Linked DNA regions of Homo sapiens: region 2 is linked to region 1. The links are contacts of gene promoters, found by promoter capture Hi-C in blood cells and fetal thymus (Javierre and others, 2016). All regions are on one chromosome and are shown on one strand. Each heading gives the region's core, a stretch centred on a gene start or on the middle of the fragment in contact. The rest is flanking DNA. Distances are from core to core; before and after follow the strand shown. Region 1 holds the start of PRKCG (protein kinase C gamma). Region 2 overlaps VSTM1 (V-set and transmembrane domain containing 1).

Evidence for each region. The method cuts DNA at HindIII sites, captures the fragments that hold promoters and counts their contacts. A CHiCAGO score of 5 or more calls a contact.
Region 2: a fragment that was not itself captured here is called in contact with the fragment with the promoter of PRKCG in region 1 in 1 of 17 cell types (monocytes); the score reaches 5.3 in monocytes.

The regions. Positions count from the first base shown.
Region 1 is chr19:53,879,733-53,883,970 of GRCh38, forward strand. It overlaps PRKCG (protein kinase C gamma), which reads left to right and starts at 2,465. Exons shown (of 18, transcript NM_002739.5): 1 at 2,465-2,932; 2 at 3,431-3,462. The coding sequence starts at 2,763. RefSeq lists an enhancer at 2,917-3,468. The HindIII fragment of the contact is 17,886 bases long and covers 1-4,238 here.
Region 2 is chr19:54,044,360-54,048,799 of GRCh38, forward strand. All of the region lies in intron 4 of VSTM1 (V-set and transmembrane domain containing 1), which reads right to left. Among named protein-coding and RNA genes, the nearest start is that of VSTM1, 17 kb to the right of the region's middle. The HindIII fragment of the contact is 7,023 bases long and covers 1-4,440 here.

The sequences.
Region 1 (4,238 bases), core at 1,215-3,714:
ACAGAGAGGATGCCGAAGCCAGCGAGATCTAGAGAGAGGGAGACAGGGATTGAATCACAGAGACACTTAGAGGGAGGGAGAGACCTCAAAGACAGAGAGATTCACAGGGCCAGAGAGACACGTAGAGTGGGTCAGAGAAGAGGACAGAGGACAGAGACATAGAAAAGACAGGAGGGAGAGAGACTGAATCACAGAGACACAGGGAGAGAGGGAGAGACCTCAGAGATGGAGAGAGACTCACAGGGCCAGATAGACACATGGAGTGGGTCAGAGAAGGGGACAGAGAGAGAGACACAGAAAAGGGAAGAGGGAGAGAGACTGAATCACAGAGACACAGAGAGGGAAGTCTCTATCTAGAGACCCTCGACAGAGATTCCTAGAGCCAGAGACAGAGATTCAGAGAGCCAGAGACACAGAGAGATTCATAGAGACATATAGAGAGATTCAGAGAGCCTGAATCACAGAGATTCACAGAGCCAACGAGACAAACAGAGAGATTCATAGAGCCAGAGACACAGATTCGGAGAGTCAGAGAGACATAGAAAGATTCATAGAGCCAGAGACACAGAGATTCAGAGAGTCAGAGAGACATAGAGAGACATTCATAGAGCCAGAGACACAGAGAGATTCATAGACATATAGAGAGATTCAGAGAGCCTGAATCACAGAGATTCACAGAGCCAAAGAGACAAACAGAGAGATTCATAGAGCCAGAGACACAGAGGGATTCGGAGAGTCAGAGAGACATAGAAAGAGATTCATAGAGCCAGAGACACAGAGATTCATAGAGACATAGAGATTCATAGAGCCAGAGACACAGAGATTCAGAGAGTCAGAGAGACATAGAAAGACATTCATAGAGCCAGAGACACAGAGAGATTCAGAGTCAGAGAAACATAGAGATTCATAGAGCCAGAGACACAGAGAGATTCAGAGTCAGAGAGACATAGAGAGACATTCATAGAGCCGGAGACACAGAGAGATTCAGAGTCAGAGAGACATAGATTTATAGAGCCAGAGACACAGATTCAGGGAGTCAGAGAGACATAGAGAGACATTCATAGAGCCGGAGACACAGATTCAGAGTCAGAGAGACATAGACATTCATAGAGCCAGAGACACAGATTCAGAGAGTCAGAGAGATGAATAGATTCAGAGAGCCAGAGACACAGGGAGAGTGAATCACAGACACAGAGGGACGGGGAGATCCCCAGAAACAGAAAGAGATTCATAGAGCCAGAGAGACAAATAGAGATTGGGTCAGAGAGAAAGGGACAGAGACAGAGACAGAGAAGAGAAGAGGGAGAGAGATTGGGTCAGAGAGAAAGGGACAGAGACAGAGAAGAGAAGAGGGAGAGAGAGACTGAGTCATAGACAGGAGAGAGACCCCCCTAGCATCAGAGAGAGAGAGAGAGATCAACAGAGCCAGAGAGGGACAAGTACAGAGAAACAGATGGAACCAGAGAGATATAGGAAGAGACAAACAAAAACAGAGACGGAGTTGCAGAACCGGAGGAAGGGAGAGAGACAGAGACAAAGGCATTTATAAAGACGGGTGGAGGTGAGGAGAGAGAGGGAGAGACAGGGGCAAGCATTTAGAGAGTGACTCCCAGAGAGGAAGACAGAGACGGACTCCCAAAGAGATCAAGTTGCAGAGGGAGGGGGAGACAGAGTCACAGCCTGAGAGAGAATAGAGATTCACAGAGCCAGAGAGACAAAGACAGGGAAAGAAACAAACTCAGGGAGACAGAGGCGGAAGAATTTATCAGACGTAGAGGGAGAGACAGAGGGAGACTGATTCACAGTGAGGCAGACCAAGACCCCGAGAAGAACCACGACACCAAGACCCAGAGATGGCGACAGATACAGATGGAGACACACAGCAGAGGAAATAGAGAAATAGAAAGAAATAGAAACAGCATTTCTCGGAGACAGGGAAAAGAAAACAGATCCACTGAGAGGCAGAAACAGAGACACATCGAGAAAGCTCGCTCCAGGAATAGAGGGAGAGGGACAGAGGTCACAAGAAAGACACACGCAGGCAGAGAGCTACACAAATAATGGAGAGGCCAGGGGAGGAAATAAAGACTCAGCCGGCATCGGAGAAAGTGAGAACCTTAGCGCCCTGCCTGTCCACTGCTGGACCCCTAGCGTGGAGCATAAAGTTTGTTGAAGGAAGGAGAGGGGCAGGGTCAGACACAGGGACCCCAGGGCGCCCACAGGACACACGAGGCACCCTAGTGGGGGAGGAACGCGGGGCAGGATGACAGATTGCAGGGTGGTGGGGGGGAGCCAGGCTCAGAGGATGCCCCTCCCTCCAGCCAGCCCCCGGAGTGGGTGTGTGCACGTGTGGGGGGCGGGGAGGGAGGACATTTGTCCCGTGTCTCCGGGAGGGGAGCGCCTTTAAGCCGAAACCCCGCCCTCTCGGTCGTCCTGGCAACGCCTCCCCCAACCCGGGGCTCCCACATTTCAGCAGGTGCCGGAGCTGGAGCTCCCACCGCCGCCGCCCGTGCCTCCGGCTGCCGGCGCCCCTGCCTTTGGCTCTTCCTCCCCACTCGCCCGCTCCCCCTGGCGGAGCCGGCGCGCCCGGGGTGCCGCTCCCTGCCTGGCGCGCTCCGCACCTGGAGGTGCCTTGCCCCTCTCCTGCCCACCTCGGAATTTCCCTGTGGCTCCTTTGATCCTTCGAGTCTCCAGCTCCTCTCCCTTCCACCTGTTTCCCCCAAGAAAGGCAGGATCCTGGTCCCTGCTACGTTTCTGGGGCCATGGCTGGTCTGGGCCCCGGCGTAGGCGATTCAGAGGGGGGACCCCGGCCCCTGTTTTGCAGAAAGGGGGCCCTGAGGCAGAAGGTGGTCCACGAAGTCAAGAGCCACAAGTTCACCGCTCGCTTCTTCAAGCAGCCCACCTTCTGCAGCCACTGCACCGACTTCATCTGGTGAGGGAAGGGGGCTGGGGGACTGGGGGACGAGGGGACTAGGGGTGCAGACTCCTATCACGCCGACCCCTGTGGAAGGAAGAAGGAGGGGGCTGTAGTCCCGACTCCCAGGTTCTAGGATGGCCAGGGAACGCTGGGAGCTTCGACTCCTGGGTTTCAGTGAGGAGGAGGCTGGTTCCTGGAGTGCTGGGTCCGAGGGAGGAGGAGGCTGGAGGACAGAGGTCCTGGAGTCTTGGGTCTGAGGGAGGAAGGGCCTGGGGGGCTGGGAGCCTGGATTCCTGGGTCTGAAGGAGGAAGAAACTGGGGGCTGAACTCCAGTCTAAGGGAAGAAGGGCTGGGGGCCAAAATTTCTGGGTTCTAGAAAGAGGAGGTGGCCGGGGCTTGGACACCTGGGCCCTGCGGGAGGAGGGTCAGAGAGCGCAGGCCCCCTGTGGCTCGCAGAGGTTGGGGGTCCAGGTACCCCTTTCTGCACTGACCTAGGATCCCTGACTCTTCCAGGGGTATCGGAAAGCAGGGCCTGCAATGTCAAGGTAAGAGCTGGGGACCGGGGCTCCTGGGACCCTCAGGAGGGTGGAGGCTGGGGCCCCACAGCTGAGGCTGCTTGACACACGTGTTCTCTGGTCCCCAGAGAGGCGCGGGGGAGCCCGGGGCGGGGGGTGTGGCAGAGACACAGCCTGTGGTGGGGAGGGAGCTTTGATGGTGGGGCCACCGCGGAGGTGGTGCTGGGGGCCCCTCCCTCGGCCGGCTCCAGGTGGGGACAGATATTTGGAGAATCTGTTGCCATGGGAACATGGAGATTTGGAAAAGGGGAGCTGAAGGGGGGAAGGGGGAGGGGGCTGGAGATGCAAAGTCAGAGCCCCCCCCCACCCCAGGCTGCCGTCGCCATGACAACACCAGCCGTCCTAGGCAGGGGCAGGCCGGGTGGGGTCACCAATGGGCGAGTGGGGGCCGGGCGGGGCCGGCAGTTCTGGGGGGCGGGAGAGGGGGGCGAGTCCTTGAGCACCAGCTGCTACTGCTGAGAACAGAGTGAGTCAGGGTGGGGGGCGGGCCGGCAGCAGCGCCCCCAGACTCACTTCTGCCCAAGTTGCTGCTTCCTGGGCTGCGTCTGAAGATATTTCGGTTTTCGCTCTTTGAATCTGTCTGCCTCTCTCCTGGCTTTCTGATCTCCGTCCGTGGGCCTGTGTCTGTTTGTCAATGGGATCCTATTTTCTTTCTCTCTTTTTCCATCTCCCTTCCCTGAGCTCTGTGCTCTGTGTCTCTCTGTAAGTCTCTGCGTCTCTGTTTCTGACTCTGAGCCCATCTCTTG
Region 2 (4,440 bases), core at 443-2,942, 160 kb after region 1:
ACCAGCCTGGCCAACATGGTGAAACCCTGTCTCTACTGAAAATATAAAAAATAAGCTGGGCATGGTGGCGCACGCCTGTAGTCCCAGCTACTCAGGAGGCTGAGAGAAGAGAATTGCTTGAACCTGGGAGGCGGAGGTTGCAGTGAGCCGAGATCGCATCACTGCATCATACACTCAACTGACCAAGACTCCAACTCAAAAAAGCATCCCTCTCAGGAGATAAAATTTCTACCAATTAAAAAACAAAAACAAAACAAAACAAAAAAAACTAGTTCTTGAGCAATATTGCCATGCAAGTCTACATCATAGCGTTTTAAAGTCTTAACAACAACCCTGCAAGGTAGTACAATTATTTCCCTCCCACTGGTGAAGGGCATGCATTCCCGTGTGACTCCTGGGATTACAGCAAGGGTTGTGTCCAAAGCTCACAGCGTTGAGGAAGAGAGAGCAACCTGTTACTAAAGCTAGGCGACAGAGTCCATGCAGTTCCCCCCCGTTTTTTGTTTTTCTTGGCACTTTAGATTCAAGAAACACAAGTCGTGAGACTTTAAGGAGTAAGTAGCAGAAACGTGATTAAGGAAAAAAGTTGAGCAACTATAGAAGTGAGGCCCCAGAAAGGGGCTTCACCAAGACCCCCGCTATCTTTGTTAGTGTGCTTTGAGTCTGAGAATTTTTCCTAGGTGTGCAATGATCTGTGGTCACATTACAGAGCCAAGTCTGAGATGCTTCACACGCCTGGTCCTCTGCACCAACAGAGGGTCTCCCATCCAGACGCTTCCCCTACTTGGTTCGCTATGTTTGCATTGGCATTTCTACATATCTATATATAGAGAATTACCTATCTAATTTATCTATCTCGCTAATCTATCTACCATCTGTCTAGGTATCTATTATCTATCTACCTATCTATCTTTATCTGTCTCTGTACCTACTTACCTATCATCTATCCAATCTATCCGTCCTATCTAATTATGATTTATCTATCTACCTACTTGCCTATCACCTATCCAATCTATCTATCCTATCATATGTAATTAACTATCTGTCTGTCTAATTTTTCTATCTTGTTAATCTATCACTTATCTAGGCATCTATGTATCTATCTTTATCTGTCTATCCACCTGCTTACCTGCTGTCTGTCTAATCTATCCATCCTATCATATCTAATTATCACTTATCTATCTACCGACTTACCTATCATCTAGTTACCAAATCTATCATCTATCTAATGTATCTATCAATCATAACCAGTTATCTATCATCTATCATCTATCATCTGTATGTATCTGTCTATTCACCTACTATTATCTATTTAATCTATTCTATCTAGTTATCTATCTATCTATCCACCTACTTATCTAATTTTTCTATCTTGCAACTCTATCACCTATCTAGGTATCTATGTATCTATCTGTGTATCTGTATATCTATCTATCTATCTAGCTAGCTTTATCTAGCTACCTAGTTACCTATCATCTATCTATCTAATCTATCATCTATCTAATGTATCTATCAATCATATCTAATTATCTGTCTATCTAATCATCTATCTTATCTATTATATCTAGTTATCTATCATCTAGCTAGCTAGCTAATCTATCTGTATCTATCTACCTACTTACCTATCGTCTATTTATCTATCTAATCTATCATATCTAGTTATCTATCTACTTACTTATCTAACCTGTTGTATCTAGTTATCTATCTACCTACTTACCTATCATCTGTCTATCTATCTAATCTGTCCATCGTATCTAGCTACTTATCTACCTATCATCTATGTATCTATCTAATCTATCATATCTAGTTATCTATTTATCTGCCTACTTGCCTATTATCTATCACATCTAATTATCTATCTATCCCCCTCCCTGAAATAAGGTTCTTTCTGAGCTGATCATCAGGGAGCAGCAAAAGGAGTGGGGAGTTTGAAACAAGACATATTTGAGTTCTAGTACTGGGTCTCCTACCTCCTGACTTTGTAAATGTTCCCTTCCCTTTCTGGAATACGTTATTTTTTGGTTAAATATAAGGAGGGGGCAGAGAGCTAATAATATCTAACTTGAAGAGTTAGGTAATGATGAAAAATCCTGGCTTTAAAGCGCTCAGTCTAGAAACTGACTCATTGTGTCGGATAATGGGATTGTAGGTATAATGATGATTTTTTTTCACCCAATATTCCACCTACACCCATCTCTCTCTGTAATAGATTCTGTCAATGTTCCTCAACCCATGTTCCCCAGATCCCTTTCCCATTTTTATGCATTCTAGATCGTGGCTTCTTTCCCTTTCCAAAGTGAACATTTGTATCTCTTCTTTGGGGGACTGCCTGGGAGAACTCCAAATGCCTTGGAATTTACATGCCCGGGACAAACTGCCACTGACGGCTGTGGGGACCCCAGCTCCCTAGCCTCTGGTCTTCGACCTTCTCTGTCTCCACTGCTTTCTGCAGGATGGAGCCAAAGATACCATCTGAGGGACACAGATATCCCACACTTGTTTAATCTATTTTCCTCCCAGCCCTTCTTCCCCACTCCCTAAAATGTAATTTTCAAGCCAGGCGTGGTGGCTCACACCTGTAATCCCAGCACTTTGGGAGGTCGAGGCAGGCAGAGCACCTGAGGTCAGGAGTTCGAGACCAGCCTGACCAACATGGAGAAACCCCGTCTCTACTAAAAATAGAATATTAGCTGGGTGTGGTGGTGCATGCCTGTAATCCCAGCTATTTGGGAGGCTGAGGCAGGAGAATCTCTTGAACCTGGTAGGCGGAGGTTGCAGTGAGCCAAGATCACGCCATTGCACTCCAGCCTGGGCAACAAGAGCGAAACTCTGTCTCAAAACTAAATAAATAATAAATAAAATAAAACGTCACTTTCACACTAATGCTGTCTAAGAGCCTGCTTCTGGTGGAGCTGAATCAGAGAACCCCTCAAAAGCAACAATTTTTTTTTTTTTGAGACAGTCTCACTCTGTCTCCCAGGCTGGAGTGCAGTGGTACAATCTCGGCTTTGGAACCTCCCCCTCTGGGGTTCAAGCAATTCTCCTGCCTCAGCCTCCCAAGGAGCTGGGATTACAAGCACCCGCCACCTCACCCCGCTAATTTTTTATATTTCTAGTAGAGATGAGGTTTCACCATGTTGGTTAGGCTGGTCTCAAACTCCAGAGCTCAAGTGTTCTGCCCACTTTGGCCTCCCAAAGTGCTGGGATTACATAAGCCACCATGCCTGGCCATAAGCAACAATTCTATCAGTGCATCTCCAAGGACTTATGAAAACAGGGCAGGAACAGCTGCTCCTGGACTCTCAGTTTCCCCAGATGGAAGCAGAGAAACAGCAGCCTTGCCTTGTCCTTTCTGTTCTCCCCTTTTCCAGCCTACGGTATCTTTCACACAGCAATTCACTAGAAATGAGAAGTACATTATTGCAAAATTCTCATCTTCATATGACCCCATAATCAGCTGAACTGGGTTCACCCTGAGATGTCCACAGATCCTGGCCAAATGTTGCATCAGTATTTGCAAATTGCCAGAATAAATCATAACTTGCTACGCTACTAAAGTCAGCGTGAGCAACAAGATACAGCCTGACACGGGGCATAAATGGAGGCACAGGCACCAGAAAGAAAGTCAAGTCTTGTGTGATAAAATTCATCTTCATTCTCTACATTGCGATTGAACATAGAGTCGTTTTCTAGTGTGTTTTAGGCATATAAATACAGGCTGGGGACATCATACCTGTGCTTACAGATATTTTACTTTTATTTTATTTATTTACTGAAACAGGGTCTCGCTCTGTCACCCAGGCTGGAGTGCTGTGGCGCAATCACAGTTCACTGAAGCCTCAACCTCCTGGGCGCAAACGATCTTTCTGCCTGAGCCTCCCAAGTAGCTGGGACTACAGGTGCACACCACCACGCCTGGCTAATTTTTGTATTTTTTGTAGAGATGGGATCTTACCAAGTTGTCCAGGCTGGTCTTGAACCCCTGGGCTCAAGTGATCCTCCTGCCTCATCTTCCCAAAGTCCTGGTATTACAGACGTGAGCCACTGCGCCCGGCAAAGATATTTTATTCTGTTTAGAATTGTGATGATACAAATTTGAACTCAAAAAGTACATTTTAAGAAATTATATAATACCCACTGGGATGGCTATAATTTAAAAAAAGAAAAGTAAGTGTTGACAAGGATGTGGAGATATTGGAACCCACATATATTACTGGAAGGAATATAACATGATACAGCCACAATGGAAAATGATTTGGCAGTTCCTCAAAAAGTTGAACATAATAGTCACCATATGTCCTAGCAAATCCACTTCTAGGTACATACTCAAGATAATTTACAGCGCGGAGACAAACAGATACTCCTACCACAGTGTTCCAGCACCATTACTCGCTTTAGCCAAGAGGTGCAGACAACACAAATGTCCATCAAAAGAAGAAC